Regions from separate parts of the Homo sapiens genome. Here regions 1 and 2 are each linked to region 3. Evidence: promoter capture Hi-C in 16 types of primary human blood cells and fetal thymus (Javierre and others, 2016). All regions are on one chromosome and are shown on one strand. The core of a region is centred on a gene start or on the middle of the fragment in contact, and the rest is flanking DNA. Distances in the headings are between cores, read along the strand shown.

The links. Contacts are between HindIII fragments. The CHiCAGO score rates a contact against its expected background, and 5 or more counts as called.
Region 1: a fragment that was not itself captured here is called in contact with the fragment with the promoter of CD1E in region 3 in 1 of 17 cell types (fetal thymus); the score reaches 8.3 in fetal thymus.
Region 2: a contact is called between a fragment that was not itself captured here and the fragment with the promoter of CD1E in region 3, in 1 of 17 cell types (fetal thymus). The highest score is 6.5, in fetal thymus.

The regions. Positions count from the first base shown.
Region 1 is chr1:159,002,773-159,006,165 of GRCh38, reverse strand. It overlaps a transcript of IFI16 not described here. Among named protein-coding and RNA genes, the nearest start is that of PYDC5, 1.7 kb to the right of the region's middle. RefSeq lists enhancers at 1-253, 254-779. The HindIII fragment of the contact is 4,916 bases long and covers 1-3,393 here.
Region 2 is chr1:159,020,696-159,024,109 of GRCh38, reverse strand. The region is part of intron 6 of IFI16 (interferon gamma inducible protein 16); the gene reads right to left. Among named protein-coding and RNA genes, the nearest start is that of IFI16, 12 kb to the right of the region's middle. The HindIII fragment of the contact is 4,898 bases long and covers 1-3,414 here.
Region 3 is chr1:158,351,858-158,355,568 of GRCh38, reverse strand. It overlaps CD1E (CD1e molecule), which reads right to left and starts at 1,675. Exons shown (of 6, transcript NM_030893.4): 1 at 1,523-1,675; 2 at 896-1,192; 3 at 1-269. The coding sequence starts at 1,580. The HindIII fragment of the contact is 6,143 bases long and covers 925-3,711 here.

The sequences.
Region 1 (3,393 bases), core at 1-2,500, 650 kb before region 3:
GTGTGGGGTATTTTCTTAACTCGCTTGGGTACAACAATATAAGCACAAGGCAAGCTCAGACCAAAGAAGAGGCAGACCACTCCTGGCTGGTTGGTAGTCAAAGATCTAGATAGCAGAAACTTACACAGGAGGCAGTCTTAAGCGGGAACAAGAGAAGTCAGATCTCCACCTCGCAGTGCACGCCTGAGTAGTCTTTCAGACAGTGAGAAGAAACAAGGAAGGAAAAGCTGATGGGGGCGCTGAGGGGTGGGGATAGCTATACCGATAGTGCCTTAGGCCATCTGGTTGCTCTCTTAATCTATTTACTTCCTGCTTAAATGGATTGTTTGAGCTTCCTTCAATCTGTTCCACATTGCTAAGGAGTGGGAGGATGTTCCTGGAAGCAGCAGTCATCTTGGTGCCAGTATGCATTTTCCAGTGGGACTGCAGCCTCCTACAATTCAATTTAAGCTCAGTTCCCAGAACACGTTTTCACAACAATGCCATTCCTTCCCCTCCAACCTCAAGGCTTCTCTCAGCCAGTCCTTCCTTGAAATTTTGTAGTTTCTGTATTGCAGTTTTGTATTCTACTTTTCCTGTTGCTCAAAGCTAATGCCATAAACTCCAGACAACTCTGTTGGCAGAAAGAGCTTCTGTAGTTCTAGGGATGACCTCTTTACTTTGGAGTGGAATAAAAGAGACTCAGTGTTGAGGCAGGAGAGGAGAGTGAATGCATATGGAAACCTGGGGAGTGATGTGAACCAGTCATGATATACTGTACAAGGCCAGAGTTGGCATCATTCATCTGTTTATTGCATGTCTCATGGAGAAAATATGAGTGAAAGAAGTTTCTGGTTCATGAAAACTCCTGTTCTCTGACCCTCCCTGTAATGGACATGCATACTTTCCCACTGTCTTAGTCCATTTAGTGCTGCTGTAATGGAATACTATAGACTGGGTAATTTATACAGAACAGAAATGTATTTCTCACAGTACTTGAGGTGGAAGTCCAAGGTCAAGCATCAGTATCTGGTGAGGCCTTCTTGCTGTGTCCTCACATGACAAACGGGGCGAATTCACCCCCTACATGCCCGTTAGAGTGGCATTAATCAGTCTATTTACGTGAGTGAAATTCTCATGATCTAAATACCTCCCATTTGGCCCAAGCTCCCAACACTGTTGCATTGGGTACTAAGTTTCAACATTATTTTTGAAGGGGGTAAAAACATTGATAGTTTCTACTTCTCCGGCTTTATCTCTGCTATCTTCATTCTTTATTTGCTTATTTTATCTAAAACTGTTCTCCAGAAAGCATTCTTTGAGGATCTTTACTAGATTGATAATTTCTTTACTCTGTTTAATTTCAGGACTTCACTTTGGCTGTCAAAATTTCCCTTGATATAATTTATCTCTAAAATTGAAGATGAGATTCTCTACTGTTGTCAGTAATGAACTCTCCACCCTAAACATCTGGTTTTGGGAATTTTTTTTCTTTTGAGACGGAGTCTTGCTCTGTTGTGATGGCACGATCTCGGCTCATTGCAACCTCTGCCTCCCAGGTTCAAGTGATTCTCCTGCTTCAGCCTCCTAAGTAGCCAGAATTACACGCATGCACCATCAAGCCTGGCTAATTTCTGTATTTTCAGTAAAGACAAGGTTTCACCATGCTGGCCAGGCTGGTCTCAAACTCCTGATCTCAAGTGACCCACCCACCTCGGCCTCCCAAAGTGCTGGGATTAGAGGCGTGAGTCACGATGCCCGGCTGGTTTTGGGAATTCTTACCCCAAATTACTAACATCTATAATTTACTCAGATTTACTTAGCAATAAGGGCAAAATTAACTGAAATTTAGATTTCTTAACCTTTTTTTTTTCTTTTGGAGATAAGGTCTTGCCATGTTGCCCAGGCTGATCTCAAACTCCAGAGCTCAAACAATCTACCTACCTCAGCCTCCCAAAGTGCTGGGATTACAGGCATAAGCCACCACATCCATCCTTAATATTTTGGCTGGAATTTGGGTATTAATATATTAAGAAGAGAGAAATAAAATTTACAAGTAATGGAGAAGTGGTGTTTGAATTTTATTTCCTTTTATGTTTTAGATTAAGGGTTGACAATCTTTGGTTCAAGGAAAGAAACTGCTGTTCACACAAATAAGTGCTTCTATGTGTTTGAATGTTTAAGGTATCAAGTCATGAGTGTCAGAAATGCAAAATAATACAGAATTGGCTGGGCGCGGTGGCTCACGCCTGTAATCCCAGCACTTTGGGAGGCTGAGGCGGGCGGATCACAAGGTCAGGAGATCGAGACCATCCTGGCTAACACAGTGAAACCCCGTCTCTACTAAAAATACAAAAAATTAGCTGGGCATGGTGGCGGGCGCCTATAGTCCCAGCTACTCGGGAGGCTGAGGCAGGAGAATGGTGTGAACCCAGGAGGCGGAGCTTGCAGCGAGCCGAGCTCATGCCACTGCACTCCAGCCTGGGCGACAAAGCGAGACCCCGTCTCAAAACATAATAATAATAATAATAATAATACAGAATTATGGACATACAAGATAGGAGAAGTTTATGGTGCAAATACCTATCGCCTTGGTCTTTTTGTTCCCTAACTCAGTGACAGGTGGCTAACTGCTCCTTAGGCTGATAGAGCCAAAACGTGATTCCAGCCTAAGAATCACAAAAGAGCAAAACAGAGGAGGGATTGCTTAGGTAACAGAGATCGAGCTCCTTTAGGAATTTGGAATATGGCAAGTTATTTCTTCTTAGCTTTACGGCAGTAATTTAAGTGTTATGTGATTTTGTAATTGCAGAATATTATGACATAGCCAGAATAAAAATACATCTATTGTCTAAATAGATAACTGGATTCACCAGTTAAATTATCGTGAAAAAATAACTAATAGCAGAAACATTAAAATAAACCATGCGATTTTCTATCAGCTTAGTCTGAAAGTTCACACAAATTCAATTACTTGAAGTTTCCCTGCAATACACCATGTTTTACTTCCTTCTTAGAATCTAGGGTATCTTGCACAGTGGAACCATAGGAAGTTGGATTACTCCCACCAGAGATGGAAGTTTCCAAATTTTCCACTTTTATTAAATATATGTTATATATTTGGCATAATGCCTTGGATTTTGAAAAGCCTTCTTAACCTTGCTGTCTTTTGAAATCATTCTACAAGTAGATAGATATGGTTTGATTATAATTTTGTTTTTTATCTATGCTATTTCTGGCTTGAACATCCCTCTTCAAGAATGTGCAGTGAGGACATTTGCTCTGTGCATTCTCAGGTAACTCTGGCTCTTGAGTAATCAAGCCATATGGATGAATAGAGCCTAGGAAGTAGAGATTCCCAGGGCTGAAGTCTTAGATGGGATGCCTAGACAGTTGATTCAACATATGTTTATT
Region 2 (3,414 bases), core at 480-2,979, 670 kb before region 3:
TAAATAAAAATTATTATCACGCTTGTACGCATGGTAGCCCAGAGGGCCAGATTATCCCCTTTCCACTCGGACGGTCTCCTCATTGACCAGAAATGGACATATGGTGGCTCTCTTGCAAAATCCCACAGTTTAGGATAATCCATCATGCTGAGCTCTCTATCTGTTATTTCCTGAAACTCAATACCCCGGGGGTCCGCCCCCGAGGGCAAGCCTGCTTCCACCTCTGAATGCCAAGTTTACTTTGTGCCTCTCACGGCAAGAGTAAAATTTGGTGTTCCTTAGAAGCATAAAAGGATGCAAGGAGCTCAAGCCTTTCCAAGAGCTTGCCCATCAGTCCACGCTTAGCCATCCCCAAGCAAATGTATGGTGATATTGTAGAGGACTTTTACTAGACACTCTGCCAAATAATTGGAGCAGTACTTATGCTCTAATCCAACTGGCTATCCCCTGCACCCTGGCATTTCACCAACCTAAAAAAAAAAAGGTAAAAACAAGACACTGCAGGCCAAAGGAAACTCCTCATGAGTCCTTTAAACGTTAGGTTTACATAAATGCTATTAAGGTCCTATGAGAAGTGCCAAATAAGTTTAAAGCACAAAATCAAATAGCTGCAGAGTTTAAATCCATGTTGCTCTGTTAAGTAACTATAAATTTTTTTTAAGTAGACTAAATAAACTATATCTACTATAATCAGCAACGATTCATAAATTACACTGAGGACGCCATCAAAGAGAAAGCTAAGCAATTAGGACCTACCAGCCAGATGGTCTAGAAAAATAAAATAGCTTTAAATATAATATTAGCAAAAAAAGAAGTTTGTGTCATAATTAAAACTCAATGTTATACCTTTATTCCTAATACTGCCCCTGATAGAACTATAACAAAAGTGCTACAAGGATTAACAGCCCTATCCGATAAACTTGCCAACAATTCTAAAATAAATAACTCTTTTTCTAAAATAATAAAACATTGGTTCAGCGGATAAAAAAAAAATTTAACTTCAATTCTCACCTCGTTTGCTCTTGTTATTGGTGTACTTATTCTTGTAGGCTGTTATATTATTCCCTGCCTTTGAAATTTTATACAAAAACTTATCTCTGCCACTCTTGCAGAGTTAACTCCTAATTCTCCTCCACCCTATTCTGAAAAATTACTTCTCTTAAAAGGACAAAAAAAAATTAAGTCAAAACATATTAAACAAGTTTAAAGAAGAATTATGAAATGAGGGGAAATTGTAAAAAGTAGAGGTTCCTCTTCAAAAACTTTCCTCCCCATCTAATTAGAAATAAATAGTAACTTCTCTTAAAAGCAAAATTTATTCAAAGACCTGTACAAACATTCTTAAATATCTGCTAGCCATAATAAAAAATCAATATACTTTATGTTCTTAGCTCCCACAATTTAGCCTAAATATTTGCCCTAACATGCTTATACTGATCCAAGCAAGCATTAGGTCATAGCCTGTTCCTCTTCCTTATTTAAAGGTGTTTTTACCTTTCTCAATATTCCACAAGTTACTTCCTCCTTCCTTTGTTCTCCTATGCCTTTGCCTCTTTTAAAAAGTTCTAAGTGCTAGCCAGTCGGGACAAATACAGAAGGTGAGGTCCCGTCCCAGCCAATGGAAACCGAACGCAGCAGGAGGGTGGCCGCGTCAGATTATAAATGAGCCTGTCTCCTTTGTTCCGTATACTCTTGTGGCAAAACTGCTGGCGAGTGTACCCTTTCTACAAAAAGTATAAAAATGGCCTTGCTGAAAAAATTAAATTGATATTCAAATGCTATTTATTTATGGCACCAGGGAACAAGCATTGCACATACAAATAATCCCATCAAAAAGTGGGCTAAGGGCCGGGCACGGTGGCTCACGCCTGTAATCCCAGCACTTTGGGAGGCCGAGGCGGGCGGATCACGAGGTCAGGAAATCGAGACCAACCTGGCTAACACGGTGAAACCCCGTCTCTACTAAAAATACAAAAAATTTAGCCGGGGGCGGTGGCGGGCGCCTGTAGTCCCAGCTACTCTGGAGGCTGAGGCAGGAGAATGGCGTGAACCCGGGAGGCGGAGCTTGCAGTAAGCCGAGATAGCGCCACTGCACTCCCGCCTGGGCAAAAGAGCAAGACTCTGTCTCAAAAAAAAAAAAAAAAAAAAAAAAAAAAAAAAAAAAAAAAAAGGGCTAAGGGCTAAGGACATGAATAGACAATTCTCAAAAGAAGATATGTAAATGGCCAACAAGCATAAGGAAAAACGCTCAACATCACTAATGATCAGGGAAATGCAAATCAAAACCACAAAATGATGCCACATTACTCGTGCAAGAATGGCCATAATCAAAAAATTTTAAAAAACAGACGCTGGCATCGATGTGGTGAAAAGGAACACTTCTACACCGCTGGTGGGAATGTAAACTAGTAGAACTACTATAGTAAACAGTGTATAGATTCCTTAAAGAACTAAAAAGCAGATCTACCATTTGATCCAGCAATCCCACTACTGGGTATCTACCCAGAGGAAAAGAAGTCAGTATACAAAAAAAGATCATTGCACATGCATGTTTACAGCAGCACAATTCACAACTGCAAAAATATGGAACCAGCCCAGATGCCCATCAGTAAACAAATGGATAAAGAAATGGGGTATGTATACACCGTGGAATACTATTACTCATCCATAAAAAGGAACAAAATAACGGCATTCACAGCAACCCGGATGGAATTGGAGACCATTATTCTAAGTGAAGTAACTCAGGAGAGGAAAACCAAACATTGTATGTTCTCACTCATAAGTGGGAGGTAAGCTATGAGGACACAAAGGCATAAGAATGATACAATGGACTTTGGGGACTCAGGGGAAAGAGTGGGAGGGGGGTGAGGGATAAAATGCTACATACACACTGGGTACAGTGTACGCTGCTTGGACGATGGGTGCATCAAAAAGTCAGAAATCACCACTAAAGAACTTATTCCTATAACGAAGCACCACCTGTTTCCCAAAAACCTACTGAAATAAAAAATAATTTACAACATTCAAAATGGCAACAGCGTAAAATCATGTACTGTAAGGAAACTTAACACGTGAATATTTGAATTCAAATTAACAAATTGGAGAGCTTCCTCTGTATAAAACTTTGTCAGTGGGACATAATTTTGATCACTGCAAATAATTTTAAGTTTCAAATTAGGTATTTTTATGGACTAAATACACACATATGTGTATTGTAATGTTACAAACTAGAAAGTATCACACACACACACACACACACACACGACGTTTTCTAATTCACAAATGGAGAACATGTAATTTTAAATCCCAACCCTACAATCACTTAAAAGTTTACATAAAATTCAGAGTTCAATTTTTTTGATAAAGTTCAGATTTCTTTCTTTTTAAAATTGTATCCTATCACATCATTCCATC
Region 3 (3,711 bases), core at 426-2,925:
TTTCCGTTTCAGTTCTGACTCCCCTGCTTCCATGAGCCCCGCTAGAAATCGAGGGCAGGTGTGACCAAGAAGGCTTTGCAGTATTTCCTTAATATCTAGGTAGCGATTGAGCACTTTACAGATGTTCTGGGCCCGGATCCCTGCTCCTGGAGATGGCTCCCAGGAAATTCCTTGGAAACTCAGGAAATCTGACCCTTGATATGCCATATTTAAGAAGATTTGTGGGGCATTCATTCTACAGCCAGCTAATATCTGGATCTCGAAGGGGTCTGAGAGTGGACAGGGAAGAGAGATCATTATGGAAAGAATGACAAGGAAGAAAAACAAACAATTTAGACAGTAAAGAGATTCAAGGGAAGAAAAATTTGCTGGGAAATCATATGGAGACTAGAGTTTACTGGCAAAGGGGAAGAAAATTTGTGGGAAGAAAATTTGAAGATAATAAAGATACTTTGAAATAACTAATGGGAAAGTGGTAGATGGGAAGGCTATCAGGAAGATAGGAGATTGGTCATAAATAATTCACGTGAAAGTGGTTAGGTACAGGCCAGTCCATGTCAACACTCAGGCAAAGGATAAAGAAGGGCAGAAAGAGGGTTGAGAAAGGCTGAGTCTGAGGGCAGGAATGAGGGGCAGAAGATCCAGAGGAGACAATCATTCCAAAGAGCCAGACATGAAGCTATATTCATGTTGAGATATGTACATGCAGGCCCTTTTGTGTATATGGTGGAGTGTGGGTGGTGGTGAAGGGTGAAGCAGAGGAGGGAGTGGGAGTCAGAGAGTGGGGAACAAGGTTAGTAAGGTTAAATGATGGTCAGAGTCTATATACTATCTTCCACTTTGGAAAATAGTTGGTGTTCCCAGGCAAATTATCAGCTTAGAGCAACGAACTTACATTCAAGCTGAAATTGACCAGCAGAAGCTTGCACTATCTGGATAAAACTATGGAAGTATAACTGGAACAGTGACTGTAAGTTTTTCAGCTCCTGCTTGCTGAAGTTTCCATGGGACCAGGGCTTCAGAAAGCGGATGGTGCCCAAGACAGTGTCCCAGCCATGAGTCTGCAGGTCACCCAGCCATCCTGAGCCCTCACTGTGTGCCCAGCTGTGGTTGGCAAAGGAGGAAGTTTGGAGCATGCGGAAGGACAGCTGCTCCTCTGCTGCTAGATGATAGGATTGTAGAGCCTGGGGAGCTGAGAGAGAGGGAAATGACAAGTAGAGAGAATGTAAAGGGATGGGAAAAGTGATGCCAAAGGGAAAAAAGGAACCCAGAGATGAGAGACAGTTAGGTAGCTTGTACATACTCCAATACCCTTTTCCTGTGGGGCCAGCTTCCTTTCTCCAAAATCAGAGACAAAAACTGAGACTGAGAGCAAGAATTCTCTGCCTGGAACTAGCCTGAAAGGCATATTCCAAGGGCATCCTAGAAGAGTACTGCTCCCTTCCCCCAGGACCTCCCCAGAGCTTCCTCTCAGCCCTCTGGTGCCCTACCATAGGTATCTTTCCACCTGCACTCTTCTTACCTGCTGTATTTTCCCCAGGACAGCAGAGACCCTCGAAGAGGAGGAACAGGAGCAGCATTGAAGCTCTGTTAAAGGAGGGATTCCTTGGCAGGACACCTGCCCTAATAATTCAGATATCAGTACCCCTCTCCACACCCTCTTGCACTCTCGTCTGACTTCCCTTGCTGTACAGACAGACAAACCTCTCCCTCTGCTGACTTCCCTGTCAGAGAAGCCACACTGCCTCGCTTTGCTGCAGCCTCCCACGGGGTTTTTCATTTCCCCTCTGCCTCTCTCACTGTCTGGCTCCAGATTTTCTCCCTGCTCTTGTGTACATCCTCCCAACCTCCCTAATTGCACTAACTGCTGGAAAACGAGTCCTGGCTTAAAACAAAGTCTGTGGTCTGGCTAGAAGATGGAGTAGCTTTTGGCCTTGTAGAAATCAAATCCATACTTGGCTTGTCAATAATCTAATCTGTGAGAAGTGATGGTAGTCACTCAGTGGTGCCTAGTGACCTATCCACCAGTCTCCCACTTCTACCTCTCTGTGATCCTCTCCTCCGCCTGTATCTCTTCACTCTGCTCTTGATCATGATCAGAAGACACTCAGCATCCTGGATGTAGCTGCATAATAAGCAGGCAACCCTCCATAATCCAACTCTCTGTGCTGCTGAAAAAGGAGCAGCAATGGCAATGCAGATTATCAGAAAATCTAAAGAAAGCTCCTTTTTTTCAGTTTCCCCAGTCAAGCCAACTGTCACTGTTAAAGTGGTCCATGAGTGGGCTTGACCTGGAAGTGGTGAGCTAGAGGGCAGGTAGATTTCACCCATGTTTTACAGGTGGCTCTGGAGGAAATACATAGGGGACTTGGATCCCCATCTCTACCCAAACGAAGAAAGCATGTCTGGAAGTCTGTGGGCCAGCTTTGCCCTGGGTATGAAGAAAGACTGAGGGCAGGCATGAAGCTCCTCATTAGTTCATGGCCTGAGAGCATTGGAGTCCCCTTGCTTGCGTTCGGTTAGAGAGCAGTTTGGGTGGACACAGGGAAGTACCTTTAGAGGACTGAAGTGTTCACTGGAGAATTAATTGAGTCTTTATTTTTGTTTCTTTTTCATTGATATTTGTTGTGACACTCTGAAGGCAGTTGAAATAACATTCCTTTGTTTGGTTTTTATATATTTGTTCAACTGACATTTATTCAGAGCCCACCTATGACCAAAAACAATTGCCAGGCCCTAAGATATCAGAGATAGACATCTTTGGGAAAAAATAAAACAAAATTCAACCCCAAACCTCTACTTTTCTTATACAGTAAATTTACTGAACGGTGGTCAGAATTATTGAAAAAGGTCCAAACCTAGTTTCATCTTATTATCATTTCTAAATTCTAAGTTAAAAGAAAGATAAAAAGTTTCCTTGTTTCCTGAGTAGAATATCTACATTTATTTTCAATACTCTTTCTGTGCTGGAGAGGTGCTGGAGAGGATGTGGAGAAATAGGAACACTTTTACACTGTTGGTGGGACTGTAAACTAGTTCAACCATTGTGGAAGTCAGGGTGGCGATTCCTCAGGGATCTAGAACTAGAAATACCATTTGACCCAGCCATCCCATTACTGGGTATATACACAAAGGATTATAAATCATGTTGCTATAAAGACACATGCACACGTATGTTTATTGTGGCACTATTCACAATAACAAAGACTTGGAACCAACCCAAATGTCCAACAATGATAGACTGGATTAAGAAAATGTGGCACATATACACCATGAAATACTATGCAGCCATAAAAAATGATGAGTTCATGTCCTTTGTAGGGACATGGATGAAGCTGGAAACCATCATTCTCAGCAAACTATCACAAGGACAAAAAACCAAACACCGCATGTTCTCACTCATAGGTGGGAATTGAACAATGAGAACACATGGACACAGGAAGAGGAACATCACACACCGGGGCCTGTTGTGGGGTGGGGGGAGGGGGGAGGGATAGCATTAAGAGATATACCTAATGTAAATGACGAGTTAATGGGTGCAGCACACCAACACGACACATGTATACATATGTAACAAACCTTCACGTTGTGCACATGTACCCTAGAACTTAAAGTATAATAATAAAAAATAAATAAATAAATAAAAATAATTAAAAAAAGAAAAAAAAACTGCAAACAAAAAAACAAAAGAAAAAGGTCCAAACCTAGTTT